Regions from separate parts of the Homo sapiens genome. Here all the other regions are linked to region 3. The links are contacts of gene promoters, found by promoter capture Hi-C in human tissues and cell types (Jung and others, 2019). All regions are on one chromosome and are shown on one strand. The core of a region is centred on a gene start or on the middle of the fragment in contact, and the rest is flanking DNA. Distances in the headings are between cores, read along the strand shown.

Region 1 (3,793 bases), core at 381-2,880, 430 kb before region 3:
CTTGTGGTAACTTGTGTTAAAATGCAATCTCTTGGTACTTGTTCACTTCCCAACTCAGTAAATGCCAACTACTTCCTCAACTCTTCCAGCCACACTGGCTTCTATCATGGGCCTGTACTCAGAGTGTAAGCACTGAAGACAGGGGTGTTTGGTTTGGCTACCAAGTTATTGCCAGCTACAGGATACAACACAGAAGTGCTCAAACACCGAATGCAAATTTGCAAATATGAAGCATACCAACCAAATCTTACTCCTCATGGCTTTCAAATCTTACTCCTCACTCAAGAACTTCCTGCTGGCATATATGATGACTTAGCTTTTTTCCCCGACAGATCGACTATGTTGATCTAACTTTTCTAAGCCAGTTTCTGTCTGATATGCCAGCTTGAGCAGCTCCTTTGTCCCAGCTCCCCTGGGCATCTAGCTGATGGGAGCTCATTTTTCTGTTTTTTCATTTCAGGTTTATTGTTGGCCAAAACCAGGCTTTGATTGAACCAGGATGAATGCGGGTGTTGGAAGTAGAATATATATATACATATAAAATTGGTAAGTGGTGCCAACACGTCTTCCCTGGCTGAGTAGACACAGGCTCTGGAGGGGGTAGTAGCTGCTTTTCAGTGTGGGTTTGTCACCCTACTTCTTGTACGACTCAAATGTGGCCTTTGCAGCTGATGATACAGCTTCTTTCCCCATCAGATCGACCCTGTTGATCTCTACACTATTGGCCAGTTTTGTCTGATGCATTGGCCCCAGTAATAACTCCTATCTTTGTTTTCTGCTTATCTTTATCAGAGACTATTGCTTGTTCATGGGAACTGGGCTTTCTCTATTTTTTCCAGCATTCAGATGGCTTCTTTTGACCTGTTAACTTTCTATAGGTTGGGAGCCACGTGTACCAGTGTGTGTTGATCTTGGCTTGATTCAGTCTGCCTTGTAACAGGTGAGGTTTCTGCTTTCTATCTGCCAAACCCCACCGCAAAATTTGTCCAACTGGGCCTAACCTCAGGACCCATTTCCAAGTTGGGTATAAAACTGGGAGAATAAGTCATTAGGACTGACATTGGCCTGTTGGTATTACTAGGTCTTTGTTGGAAATAAGAGCTTGGAGTTCCAAAGAAAACGAGCACTTGAACAAAAGATTTCTCAGCAAGGCAAATTTACTTCTGCCGTAGGGTGCTGCTGCTGGCATTCCTGGCAAGAGCACACCTAACAAAAGAGAGAAAGGGTTTTTATTCCTAACAAGTAGTCCCTGCTTCTGTGTCCTATCCCCATTGGCTGGAGTCGACAGCGCAATCTAAACTAGTCCTGATTGGCTATTTTAAACAGGAGGCATGTGGGTTACAGCTGTGGGAAGGGCAGGAAACTTGTTTACAGAGCTGGTTGCTAGGAGTGAGGGGGACTTTTCCAAATAGGGAACAGGTTACAGGTTGAGATTGGCCGGAGAAGTTGTTTATAGAACGGGTAACTCGGAGCAGGAAGGTATGAGGAAGTTGACCTTAAGAACAAAGAACAAGGAAGTTAAAACTTTGAAGAGAAATCCATTGTATCTAACGATTTCCCCCTTTTGATTTTTATAATTATTTCTCTTCAGACTTGTTTTAGCGTGTCTTGATTTTGTTCCTCTTGGTCCTCTGAAATTAGAAGCTTAACTGAATGATGCGAGGGAGGATTGAGGAAGATTTTGGTGGGTGAGAGCTGTTAAAATAAGCTTTTGTATTAATCCTCAGATACAGGGTATGATACAGCATCCTACAAGAATGAGCAAACCTATTCTGATGGCAGGAGATTGAGGACGTAAGTCCTTTCCATTTGCGGAACTATTTTTCCATTAAAATCGTGAAGGGGTCATTTATTCCAGAATTTCTAGCTAGCTCATTGGATAAAGCAGTAAGTCCTTGGGCCTTTGTTATGGTTCCATCGGGAGCAGTATTATTAGGGATGAAAGTACAACACTGGGTTCCAATCATGACACAAACTACACCTTTCTCCGCTAGTATCATGTCTAATGCTATTGTATTTTCTCAGGCCGTTTGACTGGTGGGCCCTAATTGTTAAACTGTTCCCTTAATAGCATCCCTAGTATAATTAATGAATCGTTGCTGGGTTACATTTTTTGTGTTTTTTTTGAGATGGAGTCTCACTCTGTCGCCCAGGCTGGAGTGCAATGGTGCAATGGTTCACTGCAACTTCCACCTCCTGGGTTCAACCTACTCTCCTTCAGCCTCCTGAGTAGCTGGGGGCTGTCACCATGTTGGTCAGGCTGGTCTCAAACTCCTGATCTTGTGATCCACCCGCCTCAGCCTCCTAACATGCTGGGATTACAGGCGTGTGCCACCACTCCCGGCCCAATCTACATTTTTATTTAGAGTTGACCACCAGAACAACATGGATTCAAACTTGCAGCTATTTGATTTTGGGCCTTAAATCTATCTGGCACTCCTCGTGGGATTCCAATGGCATCTATATAAACATGAGAGTCACGAGGGACATCCATTGTTTTATGATGTTCTGTTTTTATGTATGTTTTCTGGATGAAATACCAGGGTGAAAGGGAGATAGCCAATTGGATTAGAGCTCAAGTGCCACGCCAAGTAACTTGGCAGAGTATTCAGTAATGGTCCACCACAACACCACCATACGTTTGCTTGGGGATGAATAAGGGACGACTGATTGGTAAGCTCCTGGAAGGGCTTAAGCTCACTGCATCTCGTTAGGTCTCCAAGCAAATTCAAGTTCTCCCCCTGTGAGAGACACGAGGTAAAATTGGCATTGGAAGACGGATGCTTGATGGCCCTCGGGGGCTGACCCGCAGGGTGTCGGACTTCAGGGGACTTCAGGAAACAGCAGCGAGAGAGTTTGGCATAGCTTATTGCCCCAGGTTGTGGGGTCTTGGAAGAGAGCTGCCATACAACTTAATGCCTGATCGGCTGGAGGACGATCCGAGTGGAAAGGGAACAATCTGGGGCTCTGGCTTACCACGTGCGTAAGCATAACAATCGCTTTGTTTAGCGAGCGGACAGAATGTTTAATCCATTCCAGCCATGCATTTGCATCTCGGTACCGTTTCAATTGGTAGAGTTTGCTTTAGATCTTTAACCTCTACAATGGTCACTTTGGTTTTGTCATTGGGTGTTTGTTTAGAAGGGGATGAAGGGGGTGGGGGAACAATGAAGCGCATTTCGAAAGATCCTGTAGGGTCTATCCCTAATGTTGCGGCTCCCATGCTGTAGAAGCTACTTAAAGTGGGATTAGGATTGGTGGAGGTAGAGGTAAGAATAGAAATTTGCACTGGGTTACATTGGTGATATTGGCAATTAGAGGGGGCCTTCCCTTTGAAACGAAGGTAGGGTTGTAGAGAGATGCAGCTTTTTGGGGAAGTCTACCCTTGAGGATCGGTATTCCATAGGACGTCATTCCGGGATGGGCAGAACCTCTCCTCAAACCCTTCCCATTCCCAAACTGCAAAGAATGTAATGGATTTAGTTTCGATTAGGCAAGCATTGTGTGAGGATTTAGAATTTATCTTGGAAGGGCAGAGATATTTTTCTGAGAAGGCCAGTTGCCTCTGGTTTTGGAGATCCCCACAGGATATGACAAGACAGGCATCAAATGTGATTGAGGTGAGCTTGATCTAGTTACATTAATGATAAAATAGCTGACGGTAGAGAGAGGAAAGAAGACAAGGCAGTATAAGAGGGTTAAAGTTTTCGTAGCTTTAGGTTGGTAGAAATTGGCCCTGGAACAATAGCCCATGACTCTGAAGATGGTGATGCTGTTTTGACTGGGGTATGAT
Region 2 (3,402 bases), core at 523-3,022, 270 kb after region 3:
AAAGGTCTGGGATGTTGGAGGAACAGAAGGAAGGCTGGGGGTGGGATCCTTGTGCATGGGGGAGGGAGAGAGGCTCAAGCCAATGTCAGCTGGGGTCAGAGCAGCGGGGCCGAGTTGGCTGAGGAGAGGACTTTGGCTTTTACTCTGAGACAGGCGCATGGGAGGGTTTGAGCAGAGGAGGGGGTGATCTGGCCTCACTTTGGCTTCAAGCAAAGGATCCTGATTGGAGCTAAATTGACACGGGACGGGGAGTATTCCGCTTAATGACTGCTTACTGCCTCTGTCCCCCACCCTACTGCCCGCTCTCCAGCTAGAACCAGGGGAGGACGATTTTGTTCACGGCTGTCACACCCGGCACCAAGTGACTAAACAGACAGTAGTTCTGCCCTTCAGGTTGGTGGTGGTGGTGGTGTGGGGTGCTTATAGGTTTTTATAGTCTTCCTTCACAGGTGGAAACAAGAACGGTGAGACCTGTGAGGTTTATTTCAGAGCCACCCCCGGGCCTGGTACGCCTCCCAGGGAAGCTGGGGTGGGGGTGCAGCTGCCCCTCACTTGGGCCCACCCCACATGCATTCAGTCAGGGCCCCTATGGAGCCGTGTTACAGCCTTTAGACACAGGATCGAGGATCTTCACGGGGTGAGGAGACACGCCCGGCCCATGCCTTCTTTCTCCCGCCAGCCTACAGGGATCTTTTTCAACGAAACTCTAACCAGGTCCCTCCTCAGCTGAAAATCCTTCGGTGGCTCCCCAGTGCCCTTGAGGCAAAGTCCAAACTCCTACGAGGCCCTGGGGCCCAGCACATCTGACCCCTCCGGGCATGCCCATCCCACCCCATCCCTGGAAGCTGCTCTCTAGGAGTTACTCTGAAGCAGTTGCCACTTCTTCCCTCGGGCCTTTTCCCTTGATAATTCTTCACTTCCTCTGGGAAGTCACCCCGACCCCCTGTCAGGTGACCCGCCTCTTAACGGTCGCCGCGTCCCGTCTCTCCCCCACCAAAGCACACTTCCCTTTGCATTGTAATTATCTGTTTACTTCGTCTGTCTCCCTCACTGGACCAGAAGCTACCCTTCGGGAGAGGCTCTGAGTGTTCTGTCCGGGGCTGTGCCCTGGCCCCAGGTACAGTGCCCCACACGTGCTGGGCGCTCCGTAAACACTGGATAAGGGAAGGAACGGGTGCTCTTGGCTAGCTGGGCCAGGCTGCTTTGCAAAAAGGCCGTGGCATTTCAAGCCGCCGAGAGCCACGTGCGGTGTCCCTTTCCTCGCTTCCTCCCCAGTGATGTGCGTTTCCCTCGTCAATGCCACGCTCTCCAGGCGCCAGCCGGGCGGAGGAAATTTCCGCCCCCTCCCAAGCCCGAGGCGGGGGCGGGCGTCGGAAGGTCAGGTGTCCCGGCCGGCGCGCAGCGCCAGGGGGCGTCAGAAGCGCTCAGACCACCGGGCGCTGAGCCGGTGGGCGCGCGGCGTCCTGCCGGGGTCCCACCTCGCAGAGGCCTCGCTTCGCTCGACGTCCCGCCCCGGACAGCCCCAGCACCGGGGACGACCCGCGCTGCGCCAGCGAACCCCGCCTCGGAGGAGTCCCCGCCCGGGCTCTCACCGCCACGCGGCGCGAGCCCGGCCAGCAGCCGGCGCACCTGCTCGGGGAGTGGCCTTCGGCGGAGACGAGCCTCCGATTGGCGCGGAGGTGACAAAGGGGCGTGGCAGATAAGGCCCCGCCCCTCCCACCCCCCACCACCCCCCCGGAGTACTTAAGGGAGTTGGCGGCGCTGCTGCATTCATTGCGCCGCGGCACGGCCTAGCGAGTGGTTCTTCTGCGCTACTGCTGCGCGAATCGGCGACCCCAGTGCCTCGACCACTATGCCGCGCTCTTTCCTCGTCAGGAAGCCCTCCGACCCCAATCGGAAGCCTAACTACAGCGAGCTGCAGGACTCTAATCCAGGTGCGTTGGAGGGGTTCTGGGCTCCAGGAGGTTTGGGGGAGACAGGCGAAGGCTGCGTGGGGGGCACCTGAGGGAGGCGGCCTGCCTGAGCCAGGATCGAGTCACAGGATGTTTTGTGGACCATTGCGGGCTCGGGAGACCGGGCAAGTGGGTCCCCAGTTCCGGGGATCTGTCTGGGTGGTTGGGGGAGTGCCGTGTAGAGGGCAGGGGTCTTCAGCTTGGGGGGCCTTTGTAGCCGGCGAGAGGCGGAGGAGCTCCGCAAGAGGGGAAGGAGAGGAGGCCTGTGTCAGGAGGGCCCTCTGGACGCTGCTGGGGAGAGTCCGGAGTCCAGAGGGTTGAGGGGAGGGGTGGGGAGACGAGATGTGTGTGAGGAGGGGGATTGGGGCAGGGTGGTGGCTCCGGGGCTGGGATGATGGGGTTCTGGCCTCAGGCTGGAGACTGGGGACTTAGGAGAGGGAGATCAGGAAATGACCTCCTTCAACTGGGGGTCCTACGTGTGAGAGACTCAGATTGGGTGACCTGGGCGAGGAGGGCAGGAACCTGGTCTGTCCTGTGGATAATTTTTTTGATCTAATTATGTATTGAGAATCGGCCCCACCCAGCCCCTGGCCAGCGGTGGGCTCATGTTTGTTGATTGAGTGAATGATTTAATTAACGCCTGACTCTGCTTTTTCTCCCTCAGAGTTTACCTTCCAGCAGCCCTACGACCAGGCCCACCTGCTGGCAGCCATCCCACCTCCGGAGATCCTCAACCCCACCGCCTCGCTGCCAATGCTCATCTGGGACTCTGTCCTGGCGCCCCAAGCCCAGCCAATTGCCTGGGCCTCCCTTCGGCTCCAGGAGAGTCCCAGGGTGGCAGAGCTGACCTCCCTGTCAGATGAGGACAGTGGGAAAGGCTCCCAGCCCCCCAGCCCACCCTCACCGGCTCCTTCGTCCTTCTCCTCTACTTCAGTCTCTTCCTTGGAGGCCGAGGCCTATGCTGCCTTCCCAGGCTTGGGCCAAGTGCCCAAGCAGCTGGCCCAGCTCTCTGAGGCCAAGGATCTCCAGGCTCGAAAGGCCTTCAACTGCAAATACTGCAACAAGGAATACCTCAGCCTGGGTGCCCTCAAGATGCACATCCGAAGCCACACGCTGCCCTGCGTCTGCGGAACCTGCGGGAAGGCCTTCTCTAGGCCCTGGCTGCTACAAGGCCATGTCCGGACCCACACTGGTACGTGCCCCTCCAGGCGCCCCCACCGTTGCTCTCTCTGGCAGCTTTTGTGAATCTGGGCTTGCTGTTCTCATTCCCAAAGCTGTGGACACTGAGGCCCCGAGTCTTCTAACTTCTAGCTCAAGTTCCAGGGCCTGGCTCTCTGGAAACGTTTGGCAGAAACTTTCTTCATCAGCTAAGCAGATGGGCAAAGCAGACACCTTCCCAATCCCCTGCAGCCTGTTTCTCAGCCAAATGGGTCGGAGCTGGATATGGGAA
Region 3 (3,726 bases), core at 845-3,344:
ATCTAGTTGATAGTTCAAAACATCAACATTAACCACAAGTAAAATATGCTTAAAAAATAATCAGGAGACGATCTCCTGCTCTATCTGGAAATTTCTCTATTCAGCTAGTTCTGCGTTGACAGGTCAACAGAGAATGGCACTAGTTATTGCTACAATCCTAAAAGGCATTTCCCTACAGCTAAACCATCAACCCTTTCCTAAAATCCATATAATCCAAAATTTTTCTAGCAGAATTTACTCTCCCTGCCCCTACCCCAGCAGCATCTTCTGATCATTTTTCACCATAAACTGAGGTTTCCTCATAGTGATGCCAAGTCAGGCAAACACATTCCTTAAGCGTTCCACCTAACTCCCTTCTTCCTGGAAGTTACATGTAATAGCTGCCTTTATTTACTTATTTTTAAAACTCTTCAAGCACCAGGTACAGTGGTAAGTGCTTTTAAAGAACATGTATCTACTTCCATCCTTAACACTGTATGAGATTGGGACTCACATTCCCATTTTACAGAGGAGAAATGCAAAGGCTTAGTAACCTGCCCAAGGTCATACAGGGCAGAGATTGGAATCCAAGTCTGACCTCTGTGTCCTCCGCTCTTAACCTTCATGCTGTCTTTCCTTCTGATCTCTTCCTGTCCTAACTGGTGCCCTGTGGTCTTATAAAAGACTATGCTTGGGGCAGGCGGGGGAGGGGTGGGAGGGTCAGTTTCTCCAGAGACCGCCTTTCCTTTAAAGGATAAGACTTTGAAAAGAAGGAGTACCCATTACATCTTTCCTCCATGCTCCCCCTTCTCACCTGGTACCATTTCCCAAAGGCCCCAATCATATCCCCTTCTCTACGGACAATTTAAACTTCTCCTTTGTCCGCAGAGCAGGCACTATCCAATACTGAAGAACCACACCATCTACCCTCAAGGCTAGGAGAGGGCAGAAGTGGAAGAAAGAACACAGACAGCACCCCTTCCCCAGGTCTTCAGTTGAGAAAGAAGCTGTGGCTGAAAGTCTGGGGGGCTGGGGGCAAAGGTGACAAGGATGTGCCCTTGTGGGTACGCGAGGTGGGGGGGGGGGAGATGGGGAAGAGGCATGGGACGCTCAGGGGATTAGCAGGAGATTGAATGGGGGTGGACCTCTGTAAGGGGAAGGGGGGTGCCACCGGCAGGCAGAGAGATCAGGCCACTGAAGAGGTGAACGTGAGTTAGGGAGGAGGACCTGGAGGTGGATGTAATAGGGGAAGTAGAGGAAGAAAGGGGAGGGAGGGGGCTCACGGGAGCAGGAAACGATGGAGTCATGGGGAGTGGGGGAGGATGGATGGGAGCTAGAAGGTGGGGCGGCCTGGGACCCGGGCACATGGGCTCGGCGAAGAGCGGGCGCGCCGCGGGGGACTGGGGTGCGGGGAATGCCGGGAATGGGGGTTCGAGGAGACCCCGGGGAAGGGAAGGGGAAGCGGGAGTTCTCGAGCAGAGGAGCGGGAAGTGGGAGTTCCAGCGAGGCAAGAGCGGGAAGGGGGTTCCGGAGCAAGGGGCGGGCGTGAAGGTACAGTCGGGTTCGCGAGGGTGGCGTTAGGAGGGGCGGGGTGGGCCGGAGGCTGGCGCGGGAGAGGGATCCCGGGCGCCTGTTGGGGTGCGGAGGGCAGGAATGTCCTGGCGTCCCCGAGAGCCGGGCCAGGACTCCGGAGTCTTCGGAGGACCAGGCTCAGGGCCGCCTCCCGGCCGGGGCCCCTTAGGGAGGGGCGGGGATTCCCCGGGTCCCTCAAGGCCAGAGCGGCAGCCGCCGCGGTCCCAAGCCCCCTTCCTACCTATGCCGGGCGCCACATAGACGAAGTACAGCAGCGAGGACGAGAGAGAAAAGAAGAAGAGCGCGGCGAGCAGCGAGCGGCGCGGCAGCCGCAGCAGCCCCCGGCGGGCGCGCATGCTGCAGCCAGGCGGCCGCTAGAGAGCCAGGCCGGGCCTGCTCCCGCAGCTCCCCGTCCGCCGCCTCCTGGGCCGCCGCCGCCACCGCCTGGGCCTCGGCCACCGCCTCCCGGGCCTCGCGGGCCGCCACTCGCCGCCGCCGCCGCCTCGCCGCTCCCAGCCGCCGGCCGTCGCGGGCCGGGCCACATGAAGCGGGCGGGGGCCAGAGCGGCCCCGAGCGGGCGCAGCGGCGGGGGCGGAGGCGGGGCGCACGCGCGGGAGGCGGGGCCAGTGCCGCCGGGCACCGTCGCAAAAGACCCGCGCGCTTGCGCTCGCCGCCGACCCTCGCTCGGCGCCCACAGCAGCCCGCATGGAGTAATCGCCAAATGGCGACAGACCCTCTCCCAGTGCGGCCACCGCCCAGGCTTTCGGGGAATGTCTCCCAAGTGCTCCGCGCTAGCTCGTCCCCCATCTCGGGGGCCAAGGGGCCATCTACAAAGTCTGACTCATCTCGTTGCCCACTGCAGCAGAAGAGTGGGGACTGCAAGGCTTGGGGGTTCGGCCTGGTATACACCCTCATTCATTCATTCATTCATTCATTCAATTCACCATTTATTTATTGAATGCCAGACACAGTTGTTGGCGCTGGGCATGCTACAGAGAAAAAAAACGATAAAAATCTCTGTCTACTTGAAACTTACATTATGTGAGAGATAAAAGAAACAAATCAGCTAGTAATATCAGGTACTGGTAACACATATGAATACGATAAAACAGGAGGATGTATTGCAGGCAGGCTGGAGTGGTCAAGGAAGGCCTCACTGAGCAGTGACACGAACTGAGATATAAAAGGGTGAGAAAGCGCCAGCTTTTTTGAATAAGCTGGGGAAAAAGCAGTCATACCAGGGGGAACAGCAGGTGTAAAGGCCCTGAGGTAGGAAAAGGGCTGATCTGCCCCCGAGTTGAATCCAAGGCCAACATGGATAAAATCCAGTGAAGTAGGGGGGGAAATAGGGATGAGCTTGGAGCTGTAGTCAGGGATCCTACTGTATCAGAAATAGCATAATGATAACAATTGTCAATGTCTCTAGACTTCTGCTGAGAAACATGGACTTCACTCATGCCATGAAATTCCCCCACCAGTCTTGAGATGTGTGCTGTTATTATTACTATCATACAAATGAGGAAACTGAGGTTTCTAGATGGAAAGGCAATTCACCCAAGCCTTGCAGTAAGGGCTTAAATCAAAACTGGCCTGTCTCCCATGTCAGGCCCTTGACCTCTAGGTTGTAACTGTCTCAGCAGTCTGTATGACCTCTAATTCTTATCCTGCAGGCAAATCGGTATCCTATCCCCATCACCTGGGTATGGGACCATATCCAAAAAAATGCTTTCAGATCAGCATCAGCTCAAAGGACCTCAGAAGGCAATGAACAGTCCTAGAAATTTATGGCAAGAAGCAGTAGCCTCAAGGAGCTGGACTGAGGAGGCCAGTGTCCCTGTGTAGACATATCTGAAACTAGGGTACTGTCTTGGAATGCCAGAAGCAGTGGGGAGGGGAGAGGACTTTGCAGGGATTCTGTGAGAATCAACAATAATTCTGATTTATATTCCTAAAGTGATTTCTACTTTTTACAGTGTTTCTTTGATCCTTTAAGTGGGGAGTCTAGAGCCACACTGCCCAGGTTCTCTGACTCCCAGCTTTTCCATTGTTAGCTGTGTGACCTCACGCAAGTTAAACTCTCTGTGCCTCGGTAAAATGGAGGAGGTTATTAGCAACCTCATCAGGTTGTTGCGAGGATTTAAGTAATACATGCAAAGTGCACATAGTAAGAGTGCT

What was found. The method cuts DNA at HindIII sites, captures the fragments that hold promoters and counts their contacts. A contact is called where the count stands out against the background at its distance.
Region 1: a contact is called between a fragment that was not itself captured here and the fragment with the promoter of B4GALT5 in region 3, in 2 of the 25 tissues and cell types used here (dorsolateral prefrontal cortex and spleen).
Region 2: the fragment with the promoter of SNAI1 here is called in contact with the fragment with the promoter of B4GALT5 in region 3 in 1 of the 25 tissues and cell types used here (thymus).

Annotation. Positions count from the first base shown.
Region 1 is chr20:49,280,025-49,283,817 of GRCh38, forward strand. ZFAS1 (ZNFX1 antisense RNA 1) reads left to right here. Exons shown (of 4, transcript NR_036658.2): 3 at 461-546. It overlaps SNORD12B (small nucleolar RNA, C/D box 12B), which reads left to right and starts at 289; the gene lies at 289-391. SNORD12 (small nucleolar RNA, C/D box 12) reads left to right here and starts at 659; the gene lies at 659-748. RefSeq lists an enhancer at 3,483-3,793. The HindIII fragment of the contact is 4,058 bases long and covers 1-3,659 here.
Region 2 is chr20:49,981,208-49,984,609 of GRCh38, forward strand. SNAI1 (snail family transcriptional repressor 1) reads left to right here and starts at 1,773. Exons shown (of 3, transcript NM_005985.4): 1 at 1,773-1,934; 2 at 2,617-3,144. The coding sequence starts at 1,853. RefSeq lists an enhancer at 178-1,115 and a silencer at 1,268-1,787. The HindIII fragment of the contact is 23,979 bases long and covers 1-3,402 here.
Region 3 is chr20:49,711,784-49,715,509 of GRCh38, forward strand. B4GALT5 (beta-1,4-galactosyltransferase 5) reads right to left here and starts at 2,095. Exons shown (of 9, transcript NM_004776.4): 1 at 1,793-2,095. The coding sequence starts at 1,907. RefSeq lists silencers at 1,568-1,687, 1,978-2,307. The HindIII fragment of the contact is 30,885 bases long and covers 1-3,726 here.